3 separate regions of the Homo sapiens genome follow, and all the other regions are linked to region 3. Evidence: promoter capture Hi-C in 16 types of primary human blood cells and fetal thymus (Javierre and others, 2016). All regions are on one chromosome and are shown on one strand. The core of a region is centred on a gene start or on the middle of the fragment in contact, and the rest is flanking DNA. Distances in the headings are between cores, read along the strand shown.

Region 1 (3,858 bases), core at 759-3,258, 570 kb after region 3:
CACGGGGCGTCACTGGACTGCAGAGGATGCTCTGAAGAAGCAATTCTGTTGCACAGTCCCCTGCAGCAGCTCCTGCACTTCTTGGATTAGCACGCCCCCGAGATGAGCTCTGCACACACACACACACACACACAACACAAAAGCAACTAAAGAAGCAATTTGGTGTGGTGATATTTGTAAAACAGAAGTTGGGCAATGTCTCTAATACTCTTTTTAGGGAAGTGGTTCTATAGTCCTGCCGACAGTAGGTAGCAGCGGGAATGCTGTCCCCGTAGAACAATGTTGTCAGCACCCAGTATGCTTGTCTTTCTGTTTTCTGGGGCAGTGGAGGGGGCAGCCTGACCACCCAAGTCTCAGATCACCCAAACCCTATACAACCACCCAGCACCCATCAATGTCCCCATCAGAGCCCCCCGACTCCACCTCACAGTCTATTCTGATGCTGCAACCAGATCCCACCTGTAAATCATCTAACAAGGAGGTCAGGCAGCTCACTCAGGCTCCCTGGGAAACCTGCCCTGGCCACTGCACTAAGTTGATTTACAGAAATGTCCAGCGCCCCAGAACTTCGGGGCATCACCACTGTCGTTTCAAGAAAGTGTGATGCATGTCCACAGGTTCCAGCCAGGTGAGACTGCACCTGCTAACAGTGGTCAACAGGTCAGCAAAGATTAGGGCCCAGCACCCAGAGGGTCCTTAACCTGTACTTGTGGCCAGGATTGGAAGACTTGCGTTCACGGCTGTCCCTGGCACACAGTACAAGGAATGTCACCAGTTCCCAGGCCCAGCAGGCCTGCAGGGCTAGGAGATGGCAGTGTCCCCTAGGGGCTGGGCTGGGGCCTTCTCCACCTTTCCACCACCATCATTACAGGGACAACTCTGCGAGGAGCTATCCTCATGGCCAAGTCCAAAATCCAGATTTAGTTTTACCTAAATGTTTTGAAATGAATTGGTATAGCAGTTACAGAAGAAATTTATCTGGAGTGGCCACTCCTGATTTTTATTTCAAGAGGTCACCAACCTTGCCATGTATCTGCCAGCAGATGTCAAAGGTGGATGAGCAAGGGACCCGCGGTGCTGGGAAATGGCAGGTGAAAGTGACTTTGTGTTGCCCCATATCTGCCAGTGCTTAGAGAGAGGGCCCTGAGGAGGCGCTGAACTGGCATCAGCTGTGTTGAACAGTCCCCAGGGTGACCCTCCCGGTGGCCCAGGCTTCGTGTGGTCCTCTCCCCTAAGTGCCTTCTTACAACTGAGAGATGGCGGCAAAGGTGAAGGAAGCCACGGCTTGCCCATGTCATCCTGGTTATATAAGACTCGGCACCCTAGAGAGAAAGACTCCCCTGGTGGCTTTGAAAAGAAAACGGCCGTGCTTTGCACTGCCTATGGAGGGACAGGGGTCCGCCAGCAGCTTCCAGGAGCTGAGTAAGGCCCCCAGCCCGCAGCAGAAGGACAGAGACCCCTACACACCCAGCTTAGGGAGAGAGGCCCCTGTGGACACGTGGCCCCTCCGGGGGTTATCCTCCAAGGGACATTCTTCTGATGGGGACATCCTCTGGGGGGATTTCTCTTGGGGGACAGAAATATTCCTGGAAGAGGGGATTCTCTGCGGGGCAGGCATCCTCCGGGGAGAGAATCCTGCTGGGAGGACATCGTCGGGAAGACATCCTTCCTAGGTACCCGGCTCATCTTCCGGGGAGACCGTCCTCTGGGGGGCGGGCAGGCTTTGGGGACATTTTCGGGAGGGAGGATCTCCTAGGGCGGGCATCCTTGCGAGACGGGGTGGGGCGAATCCTCCCGGGTGGGCATCGTGGGGTGGGGGTGGGCGTTCCGCGAGGGGCATCCTCCCGGGCGGACGTTGGGGGATTCTCGGGGGAGGGAGGGGCGCGGGGCGGGCGTCCCGGGGAGGGAGGGGCGTTGCGCGCGGACGCGGGCGGGGCCTGGGCCGCTCCGTCCCCTCCCCCCGCCCGCCCCCCGCGCTTCCTCTGCTTTCGGTTTCGCTTCCGCCTCCAGCGCGAGCCCCGCCGCCGCCGAGCATGGACGACCCCGACTGCGACTCCACCTGGGAGGAGGACGAGGAGGATGCGGAGGACGCGGAGGACGAGGACTGCGAGGACGGCGAGGCCGCCGGCGCGAGGGACGCGGACGCAGGGGACGAGGACGAGGAGTCGGAGGAGCCGCGGGCGGCGCGGCCCAGCTCGTTCCAGGTGCGGCCCCGCGGCGCGGAAGAGGCCTGGGGTCCCCGGCGCCCCCCGCCCGGCTGCGTGGACGGGAGACCCCCCCATCCCGGGCGGAGACACCTGGAGCCTCCTGGAGCTCCCGCAGCCCCGGGGACCCCCCCCCAGACCGGCCGACCCCCAGCCCCAGGGCCCGGCGGGGAAGTGCGGGGGCCGCGCGTGGGTGACAGCGGAGCTGAGCCTCCCGGGCCCCATCGTGTGTGGGCGCCGTTCCCCCCGGGGGTGCCTCGGGCGCGTCCCGCCCCCAGCCGCCGTGGCCGCCCCTGATGGAACCCCTCCCGCCTCGGGCCCGCGCCTCGGCCTCCTGGCGGCCCCTGCGCAGGCCCCGCGGCCTGGGGCTGGGGCTGGGGCTGGGGCTGGGGCTGGGGCCCGGGCCGGGTCTGGCCTGGGAGGCTTCGCGTCTGCACCTGCGGGAGCCCGGGGCGGGCCGACGGGGCCTCCGCTTGTTACTTTTGTTACCGCCGGGCGCCTGTCATCGCCGGGGTTACTTTTGTTGCCGCGCTGGGAACGCCACACTGTCGCAGTCCGGCCCCCCTGTCGGGGAGCTGGGATTGATCTGGGAGCGGCCTTCCAGCTGAGCTGCCCGGGTTGCGGAGGGCCGGGAAGTGCATGGAACTCGACGGCTCCGCATGGATTCTCCCCTTGGCACCCAGCACTGTTTGCGTTTGCGCCTGGCCATGGTGGAGCGGGCAGTGAGAGAGCACGGAGGGGCTCCGCCCTGTCGCCGGGAGGGCAGCGGCCAGGCAGGCTGGGCAGGGGGGTGGGGTCTGGCTCTGTCCCACAGGACGGTGTGACCCCTGGGTGGGCTCTTGACGGGCTTTCCTCACTGGAGTTCCTCAGGCCGCTCTCCTGAAGCGGTGCTCAGAGGCCCTGACCATCCTGCCAGGCGCCCGTGACCCCTGACCTCTTCCCTCTGCCTCCTGCTGTGGCTTCTGTCCACAAGCCCCTCCCCTTCCCCTTTGGACCCCTCAGGCCTCCCCAGCTGCCTGCGCTGGACCCTGGCGGGGCTGTTTCACTTTTTCCTGGGCAGTGTCATGTATGCACCTGTGGGCTGACTGTGTGGCCACATCCAGTCAGGACCCAGCCTCCAGAACTGACCCAGGGAGGCTCCCGCTGGCCCCAGGAAGGAGAAGTAGAAACTGATGATCAGGCGGGGCGAGAGAACCACACCAGCGGCCCTGTTGAGAAATCAGGCCGAGAGGTCGGTGGCGGTGGCTCAGGCCTGTAATCCCAGCACTTTCGGAGGCCTGGGCAGTCGGATCACCAGAGGTCAGGAGTCCAAGATTAGCCTGGCCAACATGGTGAAACTGTTGTCTCTACTAAAAATACAACATTAGCCAGGCGTGATGGGCACCTGTAATCCCAGTTCCTCCAGAGATTGAAGCAGGAGAATCGCTTAAACCTGGGAGGTGGAGGTTGCAGTGAGTGGAGATTGCCTGGGAGGTGGAGGTTGCAGTGAGTGGAGATTGCCTGGGAGGTGGAGATTGCATGAAGCTCCATCTCGAGGGGAAAAAAATAAGAAAGAAAAATCAGGCAGAGAGGCAACGCCAGGTCCCAGCTGGAGCTCAGCGGGGAGCCAGGGGATACAGTGGCTGACCGGGCCTCCTAACCCCCCTTCTAGCAC
Region 2 (3,976 bases), core at 1,290-3,789, 540 kb after region 3:
TGTCAGCCGCATGGTCCTCCGCGACACCTGGGGCTCTCCCTCCTTCCTTTGTGTGCACAACCTCAAAGCCATTTTTTCCAGACTTGGCGTGAAGATGATTTTCTGACACGTTGATGCTTCTGAAGCACAAGGAGGGCCCTGTCTCCACGGTGTCCAAGCAGAGGCTGACATCCTTTCAGGAGGGAGGTGATTCGGGCGCAGCTGGGCTGGCGGGAGGCATGGAGGCTGAGTCCCCTTCCTCACTGCTCTCTACCTGGAGAAGAAACCACCAGACCATGAGGCCGAGCTGGGGAAAGTTCCGGGGGGCTGCTTGGGCTCTGTGCTCCCTCCACTGGGGCAGGCGGAGGGCCCTGCGTGCTCCTTCCAGGCAGGGGCTGAGGGGACTGTGGAAGCCACGACAGGGGTCTGTGTGAACAGAAGACCCAAGGACAAGGTGCCCCAGCACTCCCAGCCACTAGCAAGGACAGGCAATTTTCAAAACTTCTCCCCAAACTACAACCTCAGGAAAAGGGGTGGAGAAAACTCCTTTGACAGAGATTTGGTTTTCACCACCATGACAGGACAATGATGATGGATGGAAGCTGTGGCTGGGCGTGGGAAGGCTGAGTGTGCAAATGTGGGTGGAGTTCTGGGGCCCCGCCCCCGCCAGTCTTCCACTTGGTCCCTGTGAGGACCCACATGAGGGAAGTGTTGCTTCTGGCCTCAGAACCCAAGGCAGAGCAGGCTGGAGTCCCACCCCATGGATCACGAGCCCACGCTGTGACCCTGAGTCCTGGACATGCGCAGAGGGAGGGTGTGCACGAGCCCGGGAGCTCCTGTCTCTGTCTTAAGAGTGGAGCATGTCTTAAGAGCTGGCATGAGGATCAGAGGGTCCCTTCAGTGCGGCCTTCTAGAAGAACTACAGCAACCAGGCCCTCGCAGGGGGGAGATGCACCTGCTGGGGCTAAGGAGCGAGTGAAGCCAGCCCCTGAGACACATGCTCCCAACCCCATCCTCACCTCCCAAGAGAGGGGGAGCCTCCTGTTAAGCATCCAAGTCCCAAGTCACCGGCCGGCATCGGCTGCAGCTCTCTGTGTGTGGAGACATCTCATTCTGGTGTCTTCTTTACACAGGTCAGCGCTCACAGGCTCGGCTGTGTCTCAAGACCCAATTCCTTCGAGTCACTGAGATGCCCAAGGACAAGGGCAACAGAGAGTGTGAAAAGCTGGAGTAGACAGGACAGAAAACAGGGTGCAGCGTCCCCCAGGTTGGCAGATAGCCCAGCCCCAGGGACCCCACAGCCATGGCAACCTGTGTGAATGAGCCCCAGGAGCAGGGCAGTACACGATCTGCGCGACTGTGCGGGGCAGCCCTGGGTCTCTGCCTCAGGGGAGAGATTGTGTCCTCGCCTTTTGTGGTTTCTAGAGGTTCCTGCCCTCCTTGGCTGCACGGCATCTCCCAGCCTCTCTCTCCCTTCCGTCGTCCCCTCTCCTCCTCTGACCCTGACCCTCCCAGTCCCTCTTAGAGGGGCTGTGATTAAACTGTGCCCACCCTGACCATCCAGAATAATCTCCCATCTCAAGGTCCTTAACAGCATGTGGAACTGCACTAGCCGCCCCAAGGCCCCCAAAAGGCAACCCTGGATTGGGCCCCCCAAGTTGCCTGGGATTCATGGCCACCACCCGGCTCGACGGCTCCAGACCGAAATGCACCCAGTTATAGAAACAGACAGTTGCCTCTTGAATGTGCACATGTGTGAGGAGAGTGTCACACCCGTCGAATTAAGGTGGACCCGCCATGAGTGGGGGCAATGCTGGCCAATGCCCACCTGCCCAGCACCCACAGCTCTCGGCCTGGGGCTCCCTCTGTCTCTGGAGCCCGCACTAAAGTGTGCGTCTCCATCCACGACTGGCAGGGCTTGGGGCATAGACATCCCGCTGCCTTGCCTGGAGGCGCCCCAGGCCTCCACTCCCACACTGTCTCAGGGCTCCCCGGGGCTCGGCTCTCCTTGCTCACAGTGGTCCGGGCTGGGGTTCCTTCTTGGTTGCATTTCCAGCTGTGTTCTTTCCTTCACTTTCTCACTCTCCCTTGCCTCAGGGTCTGCATCTGGGGGTCCACTGGGGAGGACTCAGCCTCTCCCGCGTCCTCCATCCCACACACCTGTCCCTGGGCAGCCACGGGGAACAGGAGCACAGGGGACAGCAGGCAGAGGGCAGCGCCCGGGCGAAGGGGACTTTCGCCCTTGCTTCATGCAGCCCTGGCACCCGCAGCAGGGTAAGACGAGATCCCAGAGGAGGAGTCTTGGCCGCAGAACTGCAGGGCCAAGGCACCAGCCGCTCGGGGGCCTGGAGAGCTCAGGTCACAAACTTGAAGTCAGCTGCCCAGGAAGCAGCCTCAGCTGGGGGTCACAGGCCAACTGGGCAGTGCCCTTGGCCACACCTGTGGAAGGAGGACAGAGGAGGGCAGGGCGGAGGAGGGAGGTGCTGGGCTGCAATGTCACCTCTACAGACCTCGGCTGATCCCAAGGGGGTCCACAGTGGATATGGTCCTTCAGGGGTGCCCTTGAAGGCAGGAAGGGGACAGGACTTTATACTGTTCCTCCCACCCCTTCGAGCAGTCACCAACTGCAGCCCAGATGAGGTCAACAGGTACAGAAAGGAGGGGGTGGGACAGGAAGGAGGGGCGGGACAGGAAGGAGGGGGCGGGACAGGAAGGAGGGGCAGGACAGGAAGGAGAGGGTGGGACAGGAAGGAGGGGCGGGACAGGAAGGAGGGGGCGGGACAGGAGGAGGAGATGGGAACAGGGAGGTGGAACGGGAAGGAGGAAATGGGACAGGAAGGAAGAGATGGGAGCAGGAAGGAGATAGGACTGGAAGGAGGAGATGGGACTGGAAGGAGGAAATGGGACAGGAAGGAGGAGATGAGGCAGGAAGGAGGAGATGAGGCAGGAAGGAGATGAGGCAGGAAGGAGGAGATGAGGCAGGAAGGAGGAGATGAGGCAGAAAGGAGGAGATGGGACGGAAAGGAGGGGATAGGACAGAAACGAGGGATCAGGGTCCTATTCTAATCTCCTGGGGGCATGATTGCAGGGGGTGACATGATTACTTCCAGCCAGCCCTACATGAGCCACCTCGTCCATGGAGTCAGCCCCGCCAGGGCAGCAGAGCCCTGGGTTCGCACAGGGAGCCAGGGTGGCGTGGGGCCTGCATTGCAGACTCCATTTGTCCACATCAATCACTTCTCTACGGCCCAAATCACCCTTAGTTGCCCAGTTCCTGCTCCGCGGCAGTCTGGCTCCTGCTGGCGCCCCAGCCATCTGTCTGCATTAGAGAATGATGCTTGCCAGGGCCTCAGGGAGGTGGCACGGATGGGCAACACTGTGCTCCCGGACCAGGTGACAGACACCACCTCATGCCCCATGGCATGGACCTCCACCTGTCTGATGGCTTTGCCCCAGCCTATCTGATGGCATGGTCCCTGGCCAGTCTATCTAATGGCGTGGTCCCCAGCATGTCTGATGGCGTGGTCCCCAGCCTGCCTGATGGCGTGGTCCCCAGCCTGTCTGATGGCATGGTCCCCGGCCTGTCTGATGGCGTGGTCCCCAGTCTGTCTGATGGCGTGGTCCCCGGCCTGTCTGATGGCGTGGTCCCCGGCCTGTCTGATGGCATGGTCCCCGGTCTGTCTGATGGTGTGGTCCCCAGCCTGTCTGATGGTGTGGTCCCCGGCCTGTCTGATGGCTTGGTCCCTGGTCTATTTGATGGTGTGGTCCCCAGCCTGTCTGAAGGTGTGGTCCCCAGCCTGTCTGATGGCGTGGTCCCCGGCCTGTCTGATGGCTTGGTCCCTGGTCTATTTGATGGTGTGGTCCCCAGCCTATCTGAAGGTGTGGTCCCCGACCTATCTATCTGATGGTTTGGTCCCCAGCCTGTCTGATGGCGTCGTCCCCGGCTTGTCTGATGGCATGGTCCCCGGCTTGTCTGATGGCATGGTCCCCAGCCTGT
Region 3 (3,942 bases), core at 21-2,520:
GGGGGCTGGCTTTGCTGCAGGACGCACTGCGGGGTCACGGGTCATCTGCCAGAGCTCTCAAGGCCACAGGAAGCCCAGGACTCTTGGCTTTACCTCAAATGGGCTGAAGCAGAAACAAGCATGTGGTTCACGTAACTGAAAAGTCAAGGAAAGGACCTGCTGAGGTGCAGCAGGGTCCACGTGACCCGGCCGTGGTTGCTCCGGCTTTCCTCTGGGCTGGCTTCATTCTCGTGCAGCCCTGTTCTCGGGTAGTGAGATGTGGAAGACTGGCCCCTTCCCTCTCTCACCTAACCCAGCTCTGGAGAGGTCTGTGGGCAGATGGGAGAGTCATTTGACTTCAGCCTCCCCTCCGGTCTGAACTCTGACCCTACAGCAAAAGTCCCAGGACTGAGCCTCTTTGGCTAGAACTGGGTCACAGGCTGACCCCTAAACCAACTGCTGTGACTATGTAGCCAGCCTGGTTTATGCCACTCCACTCACCTCAAACCAGACCCATGACTTCAATGAGATGTTGACAGGGGAACCCTGGTTTGCAGATGAAACTGAGTGATCACAGACTCAGAGAGGTTAATTAATTTGTCCAAATCCACACAGCTGGTAAAGAATGCAAGCTCCAGGTCTGATTCCAGAACTTCTGGGCTTAACCCTGGAGCCACTGTAGGTCAGTGGGAGTCCAAAGGGTTTTAAGTATGGTGGTGAAACGGTCGGGGATGCAGCTGGAGGGGTAAATTGGCGCTGGATTTTGGTTGGCGGTGAATGGCATGCAAAGGAGGTGGACGATATTCAGGATTTGGTAGGACAGTGGAAGCAGCTACGCCCCAGCTATCGCACGGTCCCCAGCATTTGTAGGAAAAAGCCCCCAGGGCTTTGGGTAGCCTCGCAGGCCCGCACTGCCGCCAGGACGCAGTGCACCTGAGGGCGGAGCACCCACGCCCCGGGCCACCTGACTCACTGTTTGTCAACTCTGCTCTCTGCAGCCACGCCCTTTCCTCCTTGCCTCCCTCCCCTTTTGGCTCAGGGGCGGCATAACCCCGCCTCTCTCCTGCTGTGACTGGCTGTCCTTGCCGTCACTCCGCTGCGTGGGCGGGGCTCTGAGGGGGCACAGGTAGAGGCCCTTCGCGAAGGGATTAGCATAGTCCCACCCCCCGGCGCGAGCCTCGGGCCGGGCGCTGATTGGGCAGGCAGCGGCCGACGCGGCGGCGCCGGGCGCAGCGAGTGGCGGGCGCGGGCTGTCAGTCGGCGAGGCGGCGGGCCGCACTTCCGCCTCGGTGTCAGTGGGTCGCGGGCCTACGGGGCGGGGGCGGGGCGGCAGTGAGCTCGGCCGGCAACCGAGGGACCCGCGTCCAGGTGAGTGGCCCCCGCCGCCGCCACGCGAAGGCCCGGGACCCCGGCGAGCTGCGGGGCCTGGGCCGCGGGCTGGGGCTGGAGCCGGGGCGGGGAGGGGAGGGCGGGCCGGGCAGGACCCGGGTCCGCAGGCCGCCTCCAGCCCCGGCCCCGGCCCCGGCCTCGACCCCCACTGGGAGGCGCGCCCGGCCTAGGCCGCAGCCTGGCGCCCCGGGGAAACTTTGGGAGGAAAGTTCCGGCCGGGCGTGGGGCCTGGGCCTGGGTCCCGCGGCCCCCGCACCCTTCCCCCTGCGGTCGCCCGGCAACTGCGATCCCGGGACCCCCGGCCCGGCCCCCCCGAGATCCCCAGCCCCCCTGCTGCCCCGCTGAGCAGGAAGTGGGGACGGGCGCACCTGCTCGCGGCCTCGCCCTCTCTCACCACCTCACCGGGAACAGGGAAGGATTTCGTGCGCATTTAGGGCGATCCTGTAGGTGAGGAGGGCGAGTTCCGCCGGGAAGAAGGGCAGGGAGACGCAGTCCCACTCCGACCCTGGCCTTCTTGTCCCGCAGGCCTGTGTGCACGTCGTCCCGGGGAGGGTGCCCGCGAGCCCTTGTCCGTTCCCCTGGGCTCTGTTTTTGTTTTTAATTTATAAATCTTAGCAGACTACACACGGTTGAGAACTTGCTACCTAAAACCTATCTTTGGTAATGTAATTTTAAGAGGTTCCTTCTTTCGCCAGTTATATTTTGGTACTCAGAAGAATACGTCTTTAGACTTTCCAAGTTTATAAGCCCAGACCAAGACTGTTAGGTCGTCACAGCACCTCAGCCTCCCCGCTTCATGGGAGGACCGGCGACGAGGCAGTGGGTGTCGGGGTGTTGCAGGCTCTCCTGGGGTGAGGGTCACCTCCCAGGGGCGTTTCTATCTGAACCGTCCTCTAGGACAGGCCCTGGCCTAGCCTGGCTCCGGCAGCTTTGGGATGACTGCCCGGAACACCTGGAGAAGGGGTCCCATTCGGTTTGGTTGGATAGACGTTTCTCGAATGCCTGCTGTGGGCCTGGCTGGGTGCTGTGCGGCCTTCCCACCAGCTGGATGTGTGGTGAGGACAGCGGAGAGTTGAGGAGCCCGGAACTGGTGCAGGGGCCACATGCTGGGAAGCCACGGCCGTCCCTGCTGCCCTTCCTAACTCGTGCCCATGGCCTCTTTTCTGGCTGTCAGCCTCAACTCCTTCATCCGGACATGTAGCACTTTGCTGATAAGAGAAGCAAACGAGATCATTTTCTTGTTTTATGTTTTGAGATGGAGTCTCGCTTTGTTGCCCAGGCTGGAGTGCAGTGGTGCGATCTTGACTCACTGCCACCTCCGTCTCCCGGCTTCAAGCCATTCTCCTGCCTTAGCCTCCCATCTAGCTGGGACCACAGGCGCCGGCCACCACGCCCGCCTAATTTTTTTATTTTTAGTAGAGATGGGGTTTTACCATGTTGGCCAGGCTGGTCTCGAACTCCTAACCTCAAGGGATCCGCCTGCCTCAGCCTCCCAAAGTGCTAGGATTCCAGGTGCGAGCCACCGCGCCCTGCCATGAAATCATTTTCTACCACAGTCTCTGACACCTAGTGCGCACCCCGGAATGCCAGTTACCTTCCCCTTGTTGAGGACAGGAACTTTGTCGGTGGCACTTCCTCCCTGCCCAGCCCAGTGCCTGCCACAGTGTCGTCTTTTAGAATGTGGCAATGAGTGAGTGAGTGACTGAGTCTCCCTCATAGAATTTACCCTGTTTTCTTCATGTGTCCATCTATTAATGACAGCTCTTACCCCAGCAGACGATAATATTTAATAATGATTGTTCCAGGACTGTTACGAGCATGTCGTATTCACTTTCTTTGTGTGATCTTCACAACAGTCCACTGGGCAGGTACTGACATTATCCTTAGTTCATTCATGAGGAAGCTAAGGAACAGAGAGGTTAAGTAACTTACCTAAACCACACAGCAGTAAATTATGAAATATGGATTTGAACCCAGGCTCCAGGGTTCACACTCTTAAACACTACCCTGTACTGCCTTTTAATATCAAGATTTTCATTTAACATTTTCGTTTAGAATATTCTAATCATGCTGCATTACTCTGTGTCAGAATTTCGGGATTTTGCTACATATAGAACTAATAGACTTTCTTTTTTGTGAGCCTGAGTGTTTACAAAGCCATTTCATTTTTTCTGAAATAAAGTAATTTACCGTTTGACCATTCAGGATTTTGCCAGAATACCTTCCCTGCCACCCAGCTCCTTTGTTACTGGCAGATTCAGTGGTGGTCTCTGTGTGAAGAGGGAGGACTGAGGGGCATGGGTGCTGACAGGCGTACAGTCCAGACTCTGAGGTCTCCGTTCTGAGTTCAGTTCCAGGGGACTTCACACACTGCCTTAGAGTACACACGTAGGACATTTTTCTTCCACGCCTCGAGTGCGTTGAGAGGGTCAGACTCTGCTGTGTTCCACATGTTAATGAGAGGTGCTGTTTGAATGTGAAAAAAATGCCACTTGACTTTCATCCCAGTGTCTCTCCTCTGTGCCGTCCAGGAGATGCCAGCAGATGGGTCTTGGAATTTTTTTTTTTTTGAGA

What was found. The method cuts DNA at HindIII sites, captures the fragments that hold promoters and counts their contacts. A CHiCAGO score of 5 or more calls a contact.
Region 1: a contact is called between the fragment with the promoter of OGFR here and the fragment with the promoter of OSBPL2 in region 3, in 1 of 17 cell types (neutrophils). The highest score is 6.4, in neutrophils.
Region 2: the fragment with the promoter of LINC00659 here is called in contact with the fragment with the promoter of OSBPL2 in region 3 in 1 of 17 cell types (fetal thymus); the score reaches 5.2 in fetal thymus.

The regions. Positions count from the first base shown.
Region 1 is chr20:62,802,827-62,806,684 of GRCh38, forward strand. OGFR (opioid growth factor receptor) reads left to right here and starts at 2,009. Exons shown (of 7, transcript NM_007346.4): 1 at 2,009-2,204. The coding sequence starts at 2,034. OGFR-AS1 (OGFR antisense RNA 1) reads right to left here and starts at 2,761. Exons shown (of 3, transcript NR_102430.1): 1 at 2,642-2,761. RefSeq lists an enhancer at 1,782-2,687 and silencers at 2,203-2,272, 2,353-2,502, 2,563-2,732, 2,883-2,942. The HindIII fragment of the contact is 9,717 bases long and covers 1-3,858 here.
Region 2 is chr20:62,774,317-62,778,292 of GRCh38, forward strand. LINC00659 (long intergenic non-protein coding RNA 659) reads right to left here and starts at 2,540. Exons shown (of 3, transcript NR_046225.1): 1 at 2,490-2,540; 2 at 999-1,070; 3 at 1-253. RefSeq lists a silencer at 1,847-2,008. The HindIII fragment of the contact is 9,640 bases long and covers 1-3,976 here.
Region 3 is chr20:62,237,251-62,241,192 of GRCh38, forward strand. It overlaps OSBPL2 (oxysterol binding protein like 2), which reads left to right and starts at 1,271. Exons shown (of 14, transcript NM_144498.4): 1 at 1,271-1,347. RefSeq lists a silencer at 999-1,398 and an enhancer at 2,096-3,020. The HindIII fragment of the contact is 17,411 bases long and covers 1-3,942 here.